7 separate regions of the Homo sapiens genome follow, and regions 1, 2, 3, 4, 5 and 7 are each linked to region 6. Evidence: promoter capture Hi-C in 16 types of primary human blood cells and fetal thymus (Javierre and others, 2016). All regions are on one chromosome and are shown on one strand. Each heading gives the region's core, a stretch centred on a gene start or on the middle of the fragment in contact. The rest is flanking DNA. Distances are from core to core; before and after follow the strand shown. Region 1 overlaps SHPRH (SNF2 histone linker PHD RING helicase). Region 2 has its middle 9.1 kb from the start of SHPRH. Region 3 holds the start of LOC124901420 (a long non-coding RNA gene). Region 4 overlaps SHPRH (SNF2 histone linker PHD RING helicase). Region 5 overlaps EPM2A-DT (EPM2A divergent transcript). Region 6 holds the start of ADGB (androglobin). Region 7 overlaps SHPRH (SNF2 histone linker PHD RING helicase).

The links. The method cuts DNA at HindIII sites, captures the fragments that hold promoters and counts their contacts. A CHiCAGO score of 5 or more calls a contact.
Region 1: a contact is called between a fragment that was not itself captured here and the fragment with the promoter of ADGB in region 6, in 1 of 17 cell types (monocytes). The highest score is 6.7, in monocytes.
Region 2: a fragment that was not itself captured here is called in contact with the fragment with the promoter of ADGB in region 6 in 2 of 17 cell types (monocytes and endothelial precursors); the score reaches 8.9 in monocytes.
Region 3: a contact is called between a fragment that was not itself captured here and the fragment with the promoter of ADGB in region 6, in 1 of 17 cell types (M0 macrophages). The highest score is 5.3, in M0 macrophages.
Region 4: a fragment that was not itself captured here is called in contact with the fragment with the promoter of ADGB in region 6 in 4 of 17 cell types (megakaryocytes, M0 macrophages, M1 macrophages and 1 more); the score reaches 9.1 in megakaryocytes.
Region 5: a contact is called between a fragment that was not itself captured here and the fragment with the promoter of ADGB in region 6, in 2 of 17 cell types (M1 macrophages and M0 macrophages). The highest score is 5.7, in M1 macrophages.
Region 7: a fragment that was not itself captured here is called in contact with the fragment with the promoter of ADGB in region 6 in 1 of 17 cell types (M0 macrophages); the score reaches 6.3 in M0 macrophages.

Annotation. Positions count from the first base shown.
Region 1 is chr6:145,893,603-145,896,302 of GRCh38, forward strand. It overlaps SHPRH (SNF2 histone linker PHD RING helicase), which reads right to left. Exons shown (of 30, transcript NM_001042683.3): 26 at 1,283-1,375; 27 at 548-634. Among named protein-coding and RNA genes, the nearest start is that of SHPRH, 69 kb to the right of the region's middle. The HindIII fragment of the contact is 3,992 bases long and covers 1-2,700 here.
Region 2 is chr6:145,972,085-145,974,876 of GRCh38, forward strand. No RefSeq gene overlaps it. Among named protein-coding and RNA genes, the nearest start is that of SHPRH, 9.1 kb to the left of the region's middle. The HindIII fragment of the contact is 1,359 bases long and covers 587-1,945 here.
Region 3 is chr6:145,914,142-145,916,936 of GRCh38, forward strand. All of the region lies in intron 23 of SHPRH (SNF2 histone linker PHD RING helicase), which reads right to left. It overlaps LOC124901420 (a long non-coding RNA gene), which reads left to right and starts at 1,346. Exons shown (of 2, transcript XR_007059801.1): 1 at 1,346-1,570; 2 at 2,663-2,795. The HindIII fragment of the contact is 548 bases long and covers 1,229-1,776 here.
Region 4 is chr6:145,953,928-145,956,627 of GRCh38, forward strand. SHPRH (SNF2 histone linker PHD RING helicase) reads right to left here. Exons shown (of 30, transcript NM_001042683.3): 2 at 763-1,427. The coding sequence starts at 1,395. Among named protein-coding and RNA genes, the nearest start is that of SHPRH, 9.1 kb to the right of the region's middle. The HindIII fragment of the contact is 1,516 bases long and covers 629-2,144 here.
Region 5 is chr6:145,835,727-145,838,426 of GRCh38, forward strand. All of the region lies in intron 2 of EPM2A-DT (EPM2A divergent transcript), which reads left to right. Among named protein-coding and RNA genes, the nearest start is that of FBXO30, 22 kb to the left of the region's middle. The HindIII fragment of the contact is 992 bases long and covers 927-1,918 here.
Region 6 is chr6:146,597,535-146,600,234 of GRCh38, forward strand. It overlaps ADGB (androglobin), which reads left to right and starts at 1,438. Exons shown (of 36, transcript NM_024694.4): 1 at 1,438-1,580. The coding sequence starts at 1,507. ADGB-DT (ADGB divergent transcript) reads right to left here and starts at 1,397. Exons shown (of 3, transcript NR_125860.1): 1 at 1,299-1,397; 2 at 536-637. RefSeq lists a silencer at 1,239-1,533. The HindIII fragment of the contact is 3,644 bases long and covers 1-2,700 here.
Region 7 is chr6:145,935,409-145,938,108 of GRCh38, forward strand. It overlaps SHPRH (SNF2 histone linker PHD RING helicase), which reads right to left. Exons shown (of 30, transcript NM_001042683.3): 12 at 1-33. Among named protein-coding and RNA genes, the nearest start is that of SHPRH, 28 kb to the right of the region's middle. The HindIII fragment of the contact is 2,608 bases long and covers 95-2,700 here.

The DNA.
Region 1 (2,700 bases), core at 65-2,564, 700 kb before region 6:
TTCTTCGTAATATCTAGAGGAATCACAAGACAGATGCATGTAATGCATGCAAATTAAACTACATGAGGTTAGAGGAAAAAGAGAAAAAGAATGTGCTAGAGTGAATGTGAGATAAGAGACATGAATCTGCTAAATTTTCATTTGGTCTCTGTGTGTGCCTGAGGTCATACGCCTGTCACTGTGCTGAGCATGATGTAAGGATAACTGTGACCACATGCAGTTCTGCCTGACAGTGACTTTAGAAACTAATCCTTGGGGTGTGAGGCCCCTGTCCATTCAAAAGGTATATCATAGGCAATCTTTTCCTGTACTAAAAAAAAAAAAGAACCTCAAGTTGGGAGATCTTTAAAAAACCAATGGTCTTGTTATATACTGAAAATACCTGCAGTCTCTGCTTTTAAATGTTCACTTTATAATTAATCAAGAACTCAGACCCTGTTTATGTGGCTTATATGGCATGAGACAATAAATGTAAGTAAGCTAGTTAACAGCAGTTTAAATTTGCAACTGTATCCACTACAAAAACCGGAGTAAAATCTTAACATACCTGAAATGTCTTAACACGACTGATTTGTGCAAATTCCATGTTGTTGTCAGTAAGAGCTTTTGAAATAATATCTAATACATCTTGCCACTAGAACACATAAAACAATAAGAAAACCAATATTTACACGTAGCCTTTATCTAAGGGTATCTGAAAAGGAAATAAATCAAAATGACTTTTATACTGGAGTTAAGAAAATAAAACCAAAACCAAAACCCTCAAATGTAGTACCATCCATATTATTTAGCTCTATCTGAAATAGTAATTTTGTTTGTTTTTTTTTTTTTGCATCAAATGCTGGTTTTGAAAATGTAATTAAGATAAACAAACAGTAGAAAATACATAATGGAGTGCATACTGGAATATAGTTACTTAGTTTTCGAAAATGAAAACTAAGGGTTTTACTCAACACTTTATAAAGTAGATTGTCTTTTTCAACCCAAATTTTTGTGAAATGAGACTTTCAAAGTCAGAAATTCCAATTTTAAAAATATTAAACTAAGAAAATCCTTAAATGAAACTAATAAAAAGTCATGAAATATAGCTATACAAATTGCCTTGTGAAACATCATCACATTTCTCTAAAAATAATTCTATCTTCTCTAAAAATAATTCTATCTTATGGATTTGGGAAAAAAAATCTAAGAGTAAACATCAAAAATTAGTTCTCAGCTGTAAACTGATTAGAGAGGGAAAATCAGTTCGAATTAATATTGAGGATGAAAATGTTGATTATACCGTTGAGAAAACGAGTGCTTTGGCCCCTGGATCTCTAAGCTGTATTTTCATCAGAGTTCTGACCACAGCTTCCACTTTTGTAGAATGGCTGCCCTTTGAACACACACACAAAATACACATTACTACTAAAAAATCTAGTTAAGAACAGAATAGAAAAGCAATACAAAGTACTTTTTATTATCAAAACTATAAATGCATCAAAACAAATTATCAGGTGCATATGTGTTTACTCTTTTTCATTTTGTGTTTGCTGGAAATTTTCTTTAGCCTCGAAATGTAGAAGTCATTAAATTTACACCCAGACATTTGAATGTAAAAGCATGCCAGAAAGTCATTAAGTGCTATGACCCTGAACATAGGATCTTTTAGTTAAGTAGTCAGGTTTTATAGTTACAAAATTTTGTTACATTAGATTAGCAGAAATGATATTTTAAAACACTCTTCATTTATTCTCCCTTTCTTCAGATATTATGTCATTAGAAATGTTAAGAATACAATGAATCAAAACTCCCAATGTAAGCAAACAGTGAAGGATCCAACCAATGGAGAATGTTTTCTTGCAAGGGTATTACCAAAAACAATGACAGAGGTACAAATGATGCTCACTTAGAATGAGGCAGATTCATACAAAGCTAGACACTTAAAACTGTGTGTTTTTTTTTTTTTGCATCTTCCATAACCATTTCTATCAGATGAGGATGAAAGTGAAAAAATGATTTTTAAAATGGAGAAATAAGAAAATGAGGAAAATAGTGCAAGTATTTCTGTAGCCCTCAATGAGAAAGTTTTCCTTCTGGAGTGCTCTTGGAGATGGTATGACAGAGAAATTAAGGTTATGGGATTTTGAATGAGACAAATTTAAGTTCAACTCATAGTTCTACAACTCACTAGTTATAGTTTCTAATCCTGTGTTTCCTCATCTATCCAATAGGGCTGAATGATAATTATATCTCTTTCCAAAGGTGGCTGTGATGATTGAATGAGAAAATGTATACGAAGCATTTAGCCTAACATCTGGTAAGGAGTAAACACTCAAGAACTTATTATCTTTCTGAGATATTAAATATGAGCACTATAATGACCTAGATTATACCACAAGGGGGAGCAGATTTAACCAAAAAGAAGGAAAAATATTTCCACAGCAGCATAAACCCTCTCCCTCAATCCTCTCAACACACTTTTACATGAAGAAACATTCAAAGGTAAAAATATAAACAAAACAAGAAAGAAAGCTGTACTAATTTTAAGCCAGCAAGATAGAATAATGGAAAAAGTTTTAAAATCCTCATGCTAAAATCATGATTCTACACTTATTTTCTCTGGGTATGTAGACTTTCAAGTGTACTTGCAAGATTAGAAATGTACTACAAAGAACCTATTTCAGTCTAATAATTATCTCAAACAAGAGCGAAGAGAAA
Region 2 (2,792 bases), core at 16-2,515, 630 kb before region 6:
CCTCTTTTCCTAATTGAATACCCTTTATTTCCTTCTCCTGCCTGATTGCCCTGGCCAGAACTTCCAACTCTACGTTGAATAGGAGTGGTGAGAGAGGGCACCCCTGTCTTGTGCCAGTTTTCAAAGGGAATGCTTCCAGTTTTTGCCCATTCAGTATGATACTGGCTGTGGGCTGGTCATAGATAACTCTTATTATTTTGAGATACGTCCCATCAATACCTAATTTATTGAGAGTTTTTAGCATGAAGAGTTGTTGAATTTTGTTAAAGGCCTTTTCTGCATCTATTGAGATAATCATGTGATTTTTGTCGTTGGTTCTGTTTATATGCTCGATTACATTTATTGATTTGCATATGTTGAACCAGCCTTGCATCCCAGGGATGAAGCCCATGTGATCATGGTGGATAAGCTTTTTGATGTGCTGCCCGATTCAGTTTGCCAGTATTTTATTGAGGATATTTGCATCGATGTTCAACAGGGATATTGGTCTAAAATTCTCTTTTTTTGTTGTGTCTCTGCCAGAAATCTTACTCATAATAATCTTAACATAAAATGATGCTTGCCAGAAAATGAAGAACCTTTCCAAAGCTTCCGTCCACTAGCAGGGCAGCGCCATGCTCTGACTTCCACATTTGTGTGTTGTTTAGGTCACCTTGGGACAATGACAAAATTAGATCTGAATTCCATTTCCTTTAAGCCCTGTTAAATTTCTGAACTCCTCATTAGGCCTTTAAATAAATTTAAATTCTTAAATATTTTTAAATACCACACAATAATAGTATATAATTACTAATTATGTTATTTTGTCTGTTTGTTCATTTGTTTTTTAGGATGGGGTCTCACTCTGTCTCCCAGGCTGGAGTGCAGTGGCGCAATCTCAGGTCACAGCAACCTCCGCCCCCTGGTTTCAAGCGATTCTCTTGCCTCAGCCTCCTGAATAGCTGGGCTTGCAGGTGCGTACCACCACACCTGGCTAATTTTTATATCTTTTAGCAGAGACAGGGTTTTGCTATGTTGGCCAGGCTGGTCTCGAACTCCCAACCTCAAGTGATCTGCCTGCCTGGGCCTCCCAAAGTGCTGGGATTATAGGCGTGAGCCACTGCACCCGGCCTAATTATGTTCTTATGCCATAACACCCCCATGTTGACTATGAGCTCCTGGGAGTTCATTTTTAAAAAATTAACCAAACCATCCAACCATCTCAGGTAACTCCAGTGAAACCAATACAGAGACAGATGTTTGGGAACCACTTGAGCAGATAATCTCCAGCTTATGAACTAATTGATTCCTGGTTGGCTAAAAAACTGAGCTTATGTAAATCAAACCCTTATTTCTTGTAGCCACAGTGTTATAAACTGGGACTTCATTCCTGGAAATCTGTTTCATACCTTTAACATACCAAAAGTGTCATGAAAATAAATAGAAAAAAACCTCCACAAATACAGGTGTTAACAACCGTATCTTAAGTACATGAAACAAAACTCCTAATTGGAAAATATATCCTAAATAATGTTTTGAGAAAATTTTCAGCATTGATTAAAATGCCTGAAGTGTCTTAAAACATGATTTCAAAGAAGTTGGGACTGAAGATGCCTTTTTTGAAAAATAAATATTTCAGAAATGAGTATTTTTAGATATTCTTCATGTTCCCAAATACTATTGAATTACCTTAAAATTTGGAGACCTCTGAATTACTCAGCCTTTTGAGTAATTGTTATTTTAATGAAGTCTTCTCTAGCTATATAATATGGTTCTCTATTTTTTGACAGTACTGATTTTTTGAAATGATATTTCTCTTGTCCAGAAGGAGAAGAATGTAGCTAAGAAGACAAATTAAAATGTAATTGTCCAATGGGTTCAAACAGAATGAATTGACAAGGAAAACAATTCACCAGTTGTGTTGTGCTGATGGGAATCACTTTTCTGGATGGGTCAGACAACGTAAAGCTTTCTAATTTTCCCAAATGATAATAAAGAGATTTGGGTGCCTCAATTATTTCCCTCCTTTCCTGTGGGGTACTGTAAATATAATAGTTGTGAGTTCATGAAGTAAAGGTGAGTTGCAGAAGTACAGACCAAAGGAGTTTCCTTTGGATTCACATCATTTAGGGCTCTTTTTTTTCGCTTACAAATAGAAAAAGCATACAGAGGCCGGGTGCAGTGGCTCACGCTTGTAATCCCAGCACTTTGGGAGGCTGAGGAAGGCAGATCATGAGCTCAGGAGTTTGAGACCAGCCTAGCCAATATGGTGAAACCCTGTCTCTACTAAAAATACAAAAAAACCTAGCTGGGCATGGTGGTGCGCACCTGTAGTCCCAGCTACTCGGGAGGCTGAGGCAGGAGAATCACTTGAACCCAGGAGGTGGAGGTTGCAGTGAGCCGAGATTGGGCCACTGCACTCCAGCCTGGACAATAGAGGGAGACTCCGTCTCAAAAAAAAAAAAAAAAAAAAAAAGAAAGAAAGAAAGAAAAAGAAAAAGGATACAGAATCAGACCCTTGTCCAAGACACTGAAATTTAATGGGGAAAATCATAAAGACAAATTTTATCACAGTGGTTATATATTCTGCAATACATGGGGTGAGTATTGAGTATTTCCTAGCCAAGGGCATAGTTCTCAAATTTCTAGTAGAATGAATCAGACTCTGCAGACAGGTTAAAAATCTTTGTCCCAACACTTACTAGCTGCATTTCTTTGGACAACTCATTTCTCTTTTTGAGTCACAATTTAAAAAGTATAATTGGAATAGAAACACCTTCTTTAAGCTTATTGTGTACTGTATGCACATTTGC
Region 3 (2,795 bases), core at 253-2,752, 680 kb before region 6:
TGATTTGGGGATGGGCTGAGTTGGCTGGGGTTGGATGGTCTATGATGGCCTCATGCTCATGTTTGGCAGTTGGTAGGCTATCTGGTCTGCAGGGAGGGCTGGGCTGAGCTGAGGGCTCTGCTGCTCAAGAAAGTAAACTAGGCTTTTTGAGATAGTCTCATGGAGTTCCAAAGAGCAACAAGAATGGGAGGGTCATTGCTGTAGCACTTTGTAAACAATCTATCATAATTCACAACAGCTCTTCTTTTCCAATATGTCAATAAAGAGTTGACATTTATATAAATGGTGAGATTATAAATATTTTAGGCCTTGTGGGCCATATGATCTGTGTTGTAACAACTCAATTCCACTAATGTGGCATGAATGCAGCCACAGACAATACGTAAATGAATGAGTGTGACCATATTCCAATAAAACTTTACTTACGAAAAAAGGCAGCGGGCTGAATTTTTCCCATGCATGGTAATTTGCAGATCCTTAAGTTAAAGAAGTTATAAATTTTCCTCTAAGCACTGTCACATATTTTTACTTTCACTCAGTTCAGAGTATTTTCTAATTTCCATTTTGACTTCTTCTTTGACCCATGGGTTATTCAGAAGTATCCTGTCAATTTCTATTAAACTTTTAGGGATTTATCCAGTTATCTTTCCATTACTGATTTCTGGTTTAAATTCCTCTTCAGTCAGAAAACATACTCTCACATACTTTTAAGAGCGGCTTTTTGAATTAGCATAAGGTCTATTTTGATAAATGTTCCACGTACACCTAAAAAATATGTATTCTGAAGCTGTTGGGTGTAATGGTCTGTGTCAGTTGGGTCATATTTGTTCATTAGTGTTCAAATGTTCAATATCCTTACGGACTTTCTTGTCCATTCCTCTGAAGGAATCTTAAAATAGATTAAATTATCTTAAAATAATTACATTATTTTAATAAATTTTATAAATTTTAATAAACTTATAAATAAATTTATAATAAAATATAATTATAAATATATTTTGGCAGAATTATAAATATATAATTATAAATATAAATATTATAATACAATTATAATAAAATAAATTTTAATAAATTTAAATAAATTAAATTAAATCTTAATAATCCTCTGCTTACCTCTTTCCTTTGTGCTACTGACATATATTTTAGTTCTATATAAGTTGTATAACCCATAAGACAGCATTGTTGCTTTTAAATAGTCAATATCCTTGCATATTTATCTACATATTTAAGCTTTTGTTCTTCATTCCTTACTGTAGTTGCATCCTTCAATCTGAAATAATTTTCCTTCCATCCAAAGAAGTTCCTTTAATATTTATTGTGATGTGTGTTTACTGGAGATGAATTCTTCCAGTTTATGTTTGTCTGAAAATATCCTTATTTCACTTTTTTTAAAAAAAGGAAATTTTCTTTAAGTATAGAACTCTAGGTTGGCTGTTTTTTTCTTTTAGCATTTTGAAGATGTTCCAATGTCAACTGGTTACATAGAGAAACTATGGAAAATACCGAAACATCTTTAAAGGTGAAAAGAAAAACATCTCTATGTAGCCACCAGTTTTATTAGTGTTCCTTTGTAAGTATTAAATGTTTTATCTCTCAACTTTTTTTATTTCTATTTTTCATTATTTTTGGTTTCCAGCAGTTTGACTATGATGTATCTAGGCAGTATTTTGTTTTTTTCTTTACTTATTCTGCTTAGTGTTTCTGAACTTCTTGAATCTTTAAGATATTTGTCATAATTTTATGAGTTTTAGAAAATTCTCAGCTATTATCTCTTCAAGCTTCTGTCCTATTCTCTTTTCTTCTTGAACTTCAATTACAAGTATGCTAGATCTATGAAATTACAAGTATGCTAGATCAAACAACTGTGTCTCAAATCTCTTTTGCCCTATTTTGTTCTTTTTCTATCTATGCCACTTCAAATTGGGTATTTTCATTTGTACTGTACTTGAGTTCATGAATCCCATCTTTTTCTGTGTCTGGTCTCCAATGAGTTTTTGATTTCAGATACTGTATTTCTGCAGTTCTATAATGTTCATTTAATCCTACTGTATAGATTCCAGTTCATCTTATGTTGTCCAGTTTTCCTTTTCCTTTCTTTCACATACAGGTTGAGCATTCCAAATCCAAAAATCTGTAATCTAAAACGCTCTAAAATCATAAACTTTTTGAGTGCTGATGCAATGCTCACAGGAAATGCTCACTGGAGCATTTCCAGTTTTGGATTTGAGATGTTCAACCTACATAAAATTGTTGACAGATATTGTTAAAGTGCTTTTAAGAAAAGCTTATATAAATTTATATTTCCATTGGTAATGCATAAAATGTATCCATTCCCTGTCCTTTTTCACCACTGGGGTGTGTAATCATTTAAAAAATCTGTGCCTAATTGTTGGCAGAAAATAGCACCTGTGTAATTTGATTTTCCATCATTATAGATTAAATGCTTTTTCTTTTATTAACAGCCAAATTGGATTTTCTTAGGTAGAATATTTATATCCTTAAAATTTTAGGTTTTAAAAAATATTTTAACATATAAACAATGACGTACAAGATAACTGTCTTTTTATTTTGACTATCATATTTAAAGTATAGAAATCTTACATTTAAAAAACTTATGTTCAGGAATGTTGAGACATTTTTCCTGTTATCTTTTTTTTTTGAGATGGAATCTCGCTCTGTCGCCTAGGCTGGAGTGCAATGGCGCAATCTCAGCTCACTGCAACCTCTGTCTCCCAGGTTCAAGCGATTCTCCTGCCTCAGCCTCCTGGGAACTGGATTACAGGCGTGTGCTACCA
Region 4 (2,700 bases), core at 137-2,636, 640 kb before region 6:
GATGAAAGGCTTCATAGTTTAGCAGAGGGGAATGATCTAAAATGTTAAGTATGTGACAAGCCGCCAAGGCCAAAAAAAAAAATCTACCAGAGATTCTGAGGAGAGGGCACATAATACTACCAATAGATTTAAGAAACGATCTCCCTGGGTGAATTAAATGCTATACTAAATATTAAAGAATAACCAGGAATTACCAGGGAAGGGGAAGGGAACAACTCAAGCAGAAGGAACTATAAGAACAAAAGCAAAGACGCAGAAAGTCAGTGTGGTATATGGAGAAAATAAATCAATTTGGAGTTTCTGGGACAAAATAAAAAGCAGAGTAATAAAGGGTAAGGCTCAAGGGCTTGTCAAGGGAGGAACTTGTGTGCCAGATTAGAAAGATTATACTTAATTCTGTAGGCAGTAATGGGTAGAATTTCATTTGCATTCAATCATACAATTCCAGAGACAAAATCGAAGCATTTGAAAAGGCAAAATAGCAAACAGATAAATGGTTAAATGACTGCTGCAGTAAGAGGAACTGATGATGAGGACCAAAACAAGTCACTGAAAGTAGAGATGGAAGATCTTGAAAAAGTGTAGCCTGAAAATGATTAGTTGTAACATACTTTGAATAGTTATTAAAAGCTTAAAGTGTACTTTGAAACTTAACAATGAAAGGCTTATTGCTGGCTTTTCAGACTTCTCTCACAAGTTAATTTAAAATTGGACTGCCAATGTAGAAGAGCCTCAAAAAAGACACCACAAAAAACTGAGTACCTTGATAATGTGATTTCCTTCTGGTTTCTGATAGAGTTTTATTCTTCTCTTCTTTTGTAGCCACCCCAAATCTTCTAACATTTCACCACTGAAGGATGACTCCACCAGAATACCCTTGTCACAAATACTCATCGGTTCTTTTTTTTGTTTCTCTACATCTTCACCTTTTGAATGAACATAAATCAGGAACTGATTGCTTGACTCTGAACTCATCAATGTAATACTCCTTTCGGAAAAATTTTCAATTAAACTCTGTGCAGGAAGAAGCTGAAGAGTTAATTCTCCTAGAAATGCTTTCCAGGAATTATCAAAATGATAGGGAGAAATCACAATATTTAACTTTACAGACAAAGGGGAAAAAATACCAACAGTCTCTTCTTTTTCAATTGGTTTTGAGAAGCTCACCACTTTTGAACACCTCTTCTTATCTCTGTGAGCCACTTCTTCCTTTAGACTATCACTTAGAATGATATAATGAGCAGAAGAGGTATCTGAACCTGGGCAGGGCTGCTCGTCATCATCACTTATGATGATAGGTTCATTCCTTCTGTCCTCATGCATATTCCAATGAAGCTGCTGCCTCTTTTCCTCATCTACCCTCACTGGAGGAGCACGTTTCCGTCGGCTGCTCATTTTCAAGTTTTCTTGGCTGGTAACTGTGAACTCTAGAGGACAAATGAAACAACAGGAGGTATAACAAGAGATGATTTAGTATTTAAGGGTTACCAGATGAGAAATTCAGCATAAATTCATAGCCCATAAACATAATATGAAATCTTCTGTGAGATATAAGGCAATGAGTAATTTTTTTACCAGGTCATTATGACTAAGGAATGAACATATTAACCATAATCTCATTTATCAAATAAATTCTAATGGTTTTGCTAGTCTTTAATAGTAAAGGCAATTTGTTGTATAAAATAAAATAAATTGTAGAAATACATTTAATAAGCAATATAATAGGAAGGTAAATCTCTCAATCCCAAGTAATTTAACTGCCCCTCAGAACAAAGCCCAACAATACTTAAAAGAGCGAAACAAAATCCAACACAAATGTCTGGCATCAAATCTAAAATTATCAGGCACGCAAAAAAAATGAAAATAAAACAGAAAAATAAGACCCATTACAAGAAAAAAATCAAAAAGCCCCAGAAAAGACACAGATGATATAATTAGCAGAAACAAACATTCAAACAGCTACTGTAAATATTCTCAATATGTTAAAGGTAGAGGAAAACATGAATATGACAAAGAAAAATGATAGATATACAAGTGACTCCTATAGAATTTATGCAGATGGAAATGCAACATCTAAAACGAAAAACACATTGTATGAGATTACCAGCAGATTAGAAATGGCAAAGAAAAAAAGAAGCAGAATAAGCTTAAACAATGGAAACAACAGTAACAACAGAAACTGTCAAAAATGAAGTAGAGATAAACAAAGACTGAAAAAACAATAAATAGAACATCAGAAACCTACTAGACAATGTTAAGGAGTCAAACATGCATAAAACTGGAATCTCAGCAGCAAAGAATGGAAAGGATACAAAAAACTTTTTGAAAAAATCATGCATGAAAATTTTCCAACTTCTATAAAAACCATCAACTCAGAAAACCAAGAAGCTCAATGAAACCCAATCAGGGCAAACATAAAGAACAATCACAATAAGGTATGCCATAATTAAATTACTGAAAAGTGAGGACTTCTCTCCAGATTGGCCCTATTTCTCTGGTTTAGACACTGCTCCCACCCCACAGCTCTAAACCCAGCAAAATATCTTTCAAAAATGAAGGTGAAAAAAAGATCAACAAAAGCCAAAAGGACTTATCACCTGTATACCTACAATCTAAGTAATGTAAGAAGCGCTTGGGTAGAAGAAATATGACATCAGATGGAAATCTGGATCCACACACAAGGAAATAAAAAGCAAAAAC
Region 5 (2,700 bases), core at 173-2,672, 760 kb before region 6:
TTTCCCTTTTCTGATTCACTGTCACAGAGAAAAATTTATGGCTCAAAACGACAGTATGATTGCATCTTTCATTTAACTCATTTCCACTTCTAGTTTTTGCCCCCATGTTTGTTTTTCCTTATTTATTCTCATAGAATTTGTAGTTTATGATTTATTGGCATATTTTATTTGTAGCTTATTGCTATATTTTATGTTGCCCAAGATCTTAAATCTCTTTTGAAATAAGATAAAGTATTGATAAATAAAGTTTAATCCATCAATTAAACAAAACATATTCTATTGTATAGAAGAATCTGACAGTTGTTAGTCTGCACTTTTAAAAGCCACTGAGACAAGACAATCTTGGGAAGAATATTTATTATTTGTCTACTAACCACCCCTGCCTCCTTCTGAAAAAAAAGCAACTCATTCTTCTGGAAACTACTCCTCCTTCCACTGCAACTCTGCCTCCTAGAAATGTTGAGGACTCTAAGGATGGGTAACCAAACCAAGCCATTCAAATCACGGGCATTCCTTGGGTTGTTTTTGTTGTTTGTTGGGGAGTTGGTGTGGTGTGTGTTAGGCAATCTTGTCCTGTGATGGAATTGAGATGTAAAACTTAGGAACTGTCAGTGATCATATTTCCTGCCATGAAGAGAAAGACTGACTCAGTGTGAGACAAAGTTGGCACAGAGGGGAGGCGGGGAAGAGAGAGAGAAAGAATGTAAGTGAGAGAGAGAAAGTAAATGAAAGAGAAACCTGGCATCATTCAAGTTCCTGACACATTCAGTTCCTGAGACCCAACTCAGTGCTTTCTTTCACATGGTTTGGATATTCACTGCTTCTTTAGATTTTGGGAGATAACAAATTCCTCTTTCTCAATATGGGTTCAAATTGAGTTTCTATCACTTTCAAGCAGGAGTCCTTAATGATAGATGCTGCTTTCAAGCTTTATTGTGAAAAATTTTGGCCCTAATCCTCATCAGCCCCAGTCTACTTTTGTGCAAGGATATAATTTACTCGTCAACTTGGGAAGTCTGTATCTGGCTCTAATTTTCATTTGAAAGAAAACCAGTTTTTCCTCTTAATGATATGGTATATAAAACATCTGAAGTTTGTTTTGGAAAATACTAATATTGCAAGCATTTTTCAGTTAACTCAAACTCAAGTGTTTTGCTCTCTTGATTGTGTCAAAAGTTGGACTTGGACAGTGGTTTCTGGAGATACGGGAACATGATAACTAGCATTTTCCACATTGTTTTACTCTATCTCCATACCAAATCAATAGAAATCTACATGTCTGGATGAGTAGAATGGAAAGAATGTGACTTTAGACCATGAAGATCCAGATTCATGTCTTAGCTTTACATGACCAAGATCCTCAATCTCTCACAGTTCCCCTAGGAAACTTCTAGAAGAACAGTAATATGTACCTCCCAACATTGTTAGGGAAAAAATATGTAAAGCCCTAATACGGCATCAACATATAATAGTGGGAGTTATTGTCACTTTATTGGCTCACTATAGAAAGACCTTTCAAAAACTTTAACAATTTGCCTTCAGCTTTTATTCAGAATTCATACCCTCCCCAACACCCACAAGCTGTATTTATGTATCTTCATCCTTTGTACTATTATTAATTACCTAATCCTCTTTACAGAAATATCCTTACACTATACTCCCTCTTAGAATTTTGTCCTAGAAGAATAAAGACGTTTCTAAATTGCTCGTTTTCTTTTTATGTTGATAAAAGCATGTGAACTCATCCTGTTCTCCCTCATCTTCTTTCTTTTTCCCTTTGACTATCAGTAAAAATAGAGCTAAATTTAATGCTCAGTTGCATAAAACTAGATTAAACTACCTACTTATTACCTCCTTAATTATTTAAAAACATTATTGTATTCTTTCATTGGTTATGTTGTATGTGTGACTTCAAGTAAGCTTACATTATTCTTGGGAGTAGGCATCAGTGTATAAATAATAAATGCAATAAAGGCCTACACTATTTTAGCAACCCTCAGATGAAGAATGACTGAGCCAAGAGTGTGAGGGTGGTAGGTCTTGTATTTGATAGTTGTTGGACAAAGTGCTCCGGCTCCCTACAGATCACCCTTCAGGCACCAGTTCTACATTGGCTGCCTCCTATTCTCCCTTCTGGTCAGGCTTTGTGAGAGGCACCCTGTCTTTCAGACTCCATAGTCCATGTAGCCCATTGCCTGCCAGCTATGAAGGAAAACCACAAGGTAAAAACTTCTTCAACTTGAGTCAAAGTGTTCACAGCTAAGGGCAACATCAGACTCAGGGAAGGCTATATCTACTGCTAGACATGCAGTAGACACTGGGAGAATTTATATCTTTCTTAATGATTTGGACTGTCATTAACCTACTCTCTGAGGAAGACTTGACCCCCCTTTGTGTCTTGGTTTTTATGACACCTACACTTGTTTACCCACCATCTTTGTCCATTTGCGTTCTTGTAGCAAAATACCACAGACTGGGTAATTGGAAAGAACAGATACTTTTTTAAAAAAATAGTTATGGAGGCTAAGAAGTCCAAGATCATGGCTCTGGCAGGATTGCTGTCTAGTGAGGGCTGCTGTTTGCCTCCAAGATGGCACTTCACTGTCATGTACTCCAAAGGGGAGGAGTGCTGTGTTCTCATATCAGGGAAGGGACTAAAGGAGGGAAAAGGGCAAATTTCCTCTGTCAAGCCCTTTTAAA
Region 6 (2,700 bases), core at 188-2,687:
CATGATGTGTTCATTGTCTTTACATATATAGGAGATGTTTGCAGGGCAGTCTTGTAGTCATAATATTAACACTGCTGACTTGGAATTTATTTATTTTGCATATAGAAATACAACGAAGGGGCTGTCTGTCATCTAGGTAACCCCCAGTAGTAATCCAATAGTAATAAGATTGGGATAGTCTGACAAACCATAGGCTATGCTGAGTGGAGAGCCCTGAGCATTCATTTGTCAGAGAAGTTGAAAGATTTTCTCTGCAGGAAGCTGCCTCTTGCCTGCACAGGTGGAACTGTGAGCATGTGCCCAGTCCCATGAGTGGAGGGGATTTCTTTTATTTAAAGATACTTAACTATTTCTAGGCTCATGAAAGACACCAACCAGTAGTAGTGGTCCTAGGCCTAAGGGCTGTGTGTCAGATATCTCTGAAGTGAGGTTATATTGAACCAACACAATATTTTGTTTTGTTTTGATAAATTTGCAAGCTCTTGCAGTCTAAGCATGTCTCAGTTAAGCATAGTATCCACTACTCTGTATTTACCTGGCCAACTTCATTCATTCACGCTGTCTGCTGCTCCTCGAAACCAGGTGGTCTGTCATCTCTGAAAGAGTGGCTCCTATTTGCTGCGCTTTGCATCTTATCCTCAAAACAGAACTGTGAGTTAGGTATAACTCCTATTTATAAGTGAGTAATAGGCATCTCCTATTTATAAGTGAGTAAACTGAGACTCAAAGGGAAAAACTAGCCCAAGGCAAGATAACTAACAAATCACCACTGATGACTGAGCCTTAAGCCTGCGCCCTAATAAGTTTCATTTTACTTGGTTCTGTCTGTGTCATCTGGCCCCTGGACCTTTTCTGGAAAGTCTGCAAAGGACCACCTGAGCCCATGACTTGGACTCACTCTTTCATTCGAACAACAAGACACCTTATTGGTTTTATTACAGATATCATCACCTAGCCCTCAGCGACTCAAGGTGTCATTATTTTGCCTTCCTTACACCCACTGTGTTAATTTCTGGACCCCAGGTTTTCAAGCCATTGACAATTTCAGCGTGTCTGTAATGTCTCCTTAGTAATTATTGAAGGTACTTGTTATATTTAGCCAAGAGAATAACTGGGGTGGTACTAGGATAACATCTACGTTCAAATAGTTGGATATTCAAGAGTCGATATATGTCTATGGTTCCGAAGGGCAAAGCCAGGCAGTGTAGGTCCTGCAGAACTCCAATTAATCAGGGCTGCCCAGTAATCCTAATGCCAAACCCGTGCCCCAGAACCTCGATTTCTCCCCAGACACCAACTCCAAGTTCCTCCACGGGGATGTGGGATTTCAGTTTATGCTCTTGCGTCCCTCTGCAGCCACAGGCCGCAGAGCCCGCCCCCAGGGCCCCGCCCCCGCTCTCCGGGCGCTGGACGCGGGACGCCGTCTCCTGGCAACGCAGACGCGGAGCCGAGCGCGCCCGCAGGCTCTTTGCTCAGAGCTCAGCCCTACATAGATCGGCTTCTGCCATGGCCTCCAAACAAACCAAAAAGAAAGAGGTGCATCGTATCAACTCGGCGCACGGATCGGATAAATCGAAAGAGTAAGGGACCTCTGCCTGTCCGTCCCTCCCCTGGCCTAGCCCCTCGACCTCACCACTAGTTCTGGGGCTGCCTCCCTGCAGCAAACTGTGCCAGGGCAGAAGTTTAGTGGCCTCCTCGCAGCTTGTCTTCTCTGGTAAACCAGATCCTGGAGGTGCTCGCTCTCATCCTTCTCTCTTGCTTGTCTTGACTCACTTCCTTTCCCAGAGCCCCTGATTTTCTTGCTTTGGGTGTTCAGCTCCCATGGGTGAATCTGCCACCCCTCCTCTTCTTCATAGCCCTCTCAGGCAGTTAGAAAGGCCATAGCTTTCCTAAGAAAGAGGCATATCTCAAATACTTCTGGTTAAAGCCACATCTTCATGGCCCCGGAAATGATACAGACAGCGAGTGACAGACAGACATGGACACATTTCACCTTAATGGTGATTTTCTAGTTTGCATCTGCCCAGTCCAACGACTACGATCTTTAATCAGATATAGTCAGACGTAAAGTGGCTTCTAAACCTTAAAACATTATAAATGTATAGTTCATGTTACTAACATTTACTCTGAGAAAGTAAACAGACCCTCGCTCATGGAATTTTTATGGTGCCTTTGTCCTGGGCTGGTGTTAGGTGTTGTGTCTTAGGATGTACTTCCCCATGATTATTATTTTCTGTGGTCTGTTTCCCTAGGGATATCCAGTTATCCACAGCATAGGATTGGGGCTGTTTGAACTTACACCATTTCTAATGTTCATTCCCACTGTGAGAGAATCCCAGCTGCCCGCCCTGCTTCAGTGGGATCATTCATGTTCTTCATGCTCTGCCTGATGGGGAGGGCGATGCAATCAATCATTTCAAATTGAATTCTTACATCCTTGATGCCTGTTTCTCCATTTCCTTCCCTGGCTGAAGAATTCCACATTGGACTGATCCCTATGATTCACTGATCCCTAGGATTTAAACTCTTTTTCTTTGTGAATTCTTCTCCCAGACTCATTCCCATGTCTGTGAATCTCTAGTCCCTTAGTTCTAACCTCTCTCATAAGCAGGTTTCCAGTTACCCGGCAGATAATCCATTCCTTTTACTAGCTTAAATTTTAGATATTACATATATAAGTAATATTACATATATAATTTT
Region 7 (2,700 bases), core at 149-2,648, 660 kb before region 6:
CAATACCAAGAAAGACCACTAACCCAAAAAGATCTGAAAAGAAAAAATAAAATACATTGAGGATAACTCTATTACTTCATTACTAGTTTGCAGAAGCTTTTCTACAGACATTACACAGCACATAGAACTTTCCATGAATTAAAATACAGGCTGTATAGGCTCTTAAATCTGAAATTCAATTCCAATTCCATTTATACTTATTGAGCATCTATTCTGCCCTAGGTTTTGGGCTAGGTGCTAAAATAATGTTAGATTTATGCAACCATTCATTACATACAGCTTATACTTAATTCAAAAATCTGAAACTGTTATCAGAAGTTAAACCAAAAAACCACTCAACTGAATGTACTTGGTAAGACATATATAAGAAATACCATGCTCTGAAACCAATAGATGCAAGATTTGCTGGATTGGAAAAAAGAATTTCTAAGCACACAGATGACATGAAGAATATTCTCTGATGCAATATTTCTCATACCCTTTATCTAATAATTCTCCTAGAAAAGAAGCCTAAGAGAGTAATAAAAATATAGATAAGATTTACTTACACAGTGATATTCATAGCAACAATATGTAGAAAAATGACTCAAATAAATAAATTATAGTAATCCCACAAAATAGAACTATTTTTCTTTTCTGATTCAGCATGCCTTGTATTTGTTAGCTTTAGAGCATGGGACTTCTTGTTTATCTCTTTACTGGGCACAGTCAATTTTATATTCTATTCCCCTCCACCTGCCCACTTAACATACCCTAAACAGTTTTCCATATATTTATTTGTGAGGACTTAATGAAAAACTGCTTTGGATATGAAGTGGAAAAAAAAAAAGGAATATAAAATTGTGCATGCAGAATAAGCTCAAATATATAAACATCTATATAGAAAAGATCTTCAAATGAAGACTATGAGTGTAATTTTGTAATTTTCTTTTTGTTTTTTTGAGACAAGGTCTTGCTGTTGCCCAGGCTCGAGTGCAGTGGCACCATCTTAGCTCACTGCAGCCTCAACTTCCTGGGCTCAAGTGATCCTACCTCAGCCTCCCAAGTAGCTGAGATCATAGGTGTGTGCCACCATGCCTGGCTAATTTTTTTATTTTCTGTAGAGACAGGGCTTCCCTATGTTGCCCAGGCTGATCTTGAACTCCTGGGCTCAAGTGATCCTCCCACCTCAGCCTCCCAAAGTGCTGGGATTACAGGTGTGAGCCACCATGTCCGGGTTGTAATTTTCTTTATACTTTTATGTACAGTTCAAATTTTTTCACAATGGGCATATATTCTCTTCAGAAGCCATAAAATAATAATAAAAATATCCTTCCCACACCTACAACACTTATTCTGAAGATGATCAACAAATATTTAGATTGAATTAAGTTACCTTGATGGTTGCTGGGAGTTAGCAACATCTGAAAGAACCAATGCATCACTGCTATGCAAAGGTCCACAGATTTATATTTTTAGCTCAAATCAATTCAATTGCTATATGTTACCTCTTTTTTGAGGTCCCAAAGCCGTCTCAAACTCAACTTGCCGAAATCTCAAATTCATAATCTTTTTGCACACATGCTTCATCTTTTTTTTTTTTTTTTTTTTTTTGAGACAGAGTCTTGCTCTGTCGCCCAGGCTGGAGGGCAACGGTGCAATCTCAGCTCACTGCAACTTCTGCCTCCCAGGTTCAAGCGATTCTCCTGCCTCAGCCTCCCGACTAGCTGGGATTACAGGCGTCTGCCACCATGTCCAGCTAATTTTTGTATTTTTAGTAGAGACGAGGCTTCATCATGTTGGCCAGGCTGGTCTCAAACTCCTGACCTCAGATGATCCACCCGCCTCAGCCTCCCAAAGTGCTGGGATTAGAAGTGTGAGCCACTGGCCCATGCTTCTTTTCTGGTAGTATTCACTGGGGAAACCAGTCACCATTCATGGATTTATGCAAGTCAGAAATCTTGGTATCTCCTGATCTGTCACTGAGGCTTGTTAATTTTGCCTTATCCACTTTTTTCTGTTATCTTTAGGACAAACCTAGTCCAAATCAAAAGTGCCAGCACCACTTGCCTAGATTACTTCTTATAGACAATCAATTAATATCCTAACATCCACTCTTACCCTCTTCTAAGCCACTCTCCACACTGCAACTAGAGTGATCTTTTGAAATACAAATCTAACCACAAAATGACCCCCAACCACTGTGTTTAAATCGTTTCAATAGCTCCTACTACTCTTAAGAAAAAAAATAAAATTCTTTAACAAGGCAAATAACATCCTCCATGGTCCCATCTCTACCTACCTAGTCTCTCTATCCACCATCATCTCCCTAGCTCTTTACATTCTAGCCACGCTATTTCTGCCACATGATCTATTTACATTAATATTTTCTGTTTCCTCTACAATAGAGGATTTTTCCTTTTCCTCTTTACCTAGCTCATGTTAATGTTTCAGATCACAGCTCAGTTGTCAGCATCCCAATTGTATGATGTTATAGAACAAACTATTTTTTTAATGAAACCTGTTATAGTTAGAATTTTCCTTTTTTTCATTTGTGAAAGTTATCTCAATTGCAATTTAATATTTATCTAAGTATTTAAGAAACATTTTAAGAAATGTATGTTCTCCTCTAAGCTGTAAGCTCAATAGATAAGGGATCGTATGTACTTTTGCTCATCATCTGCTATGGTTTGAATGTATCCCCCAAAAGTTCACGTGTTA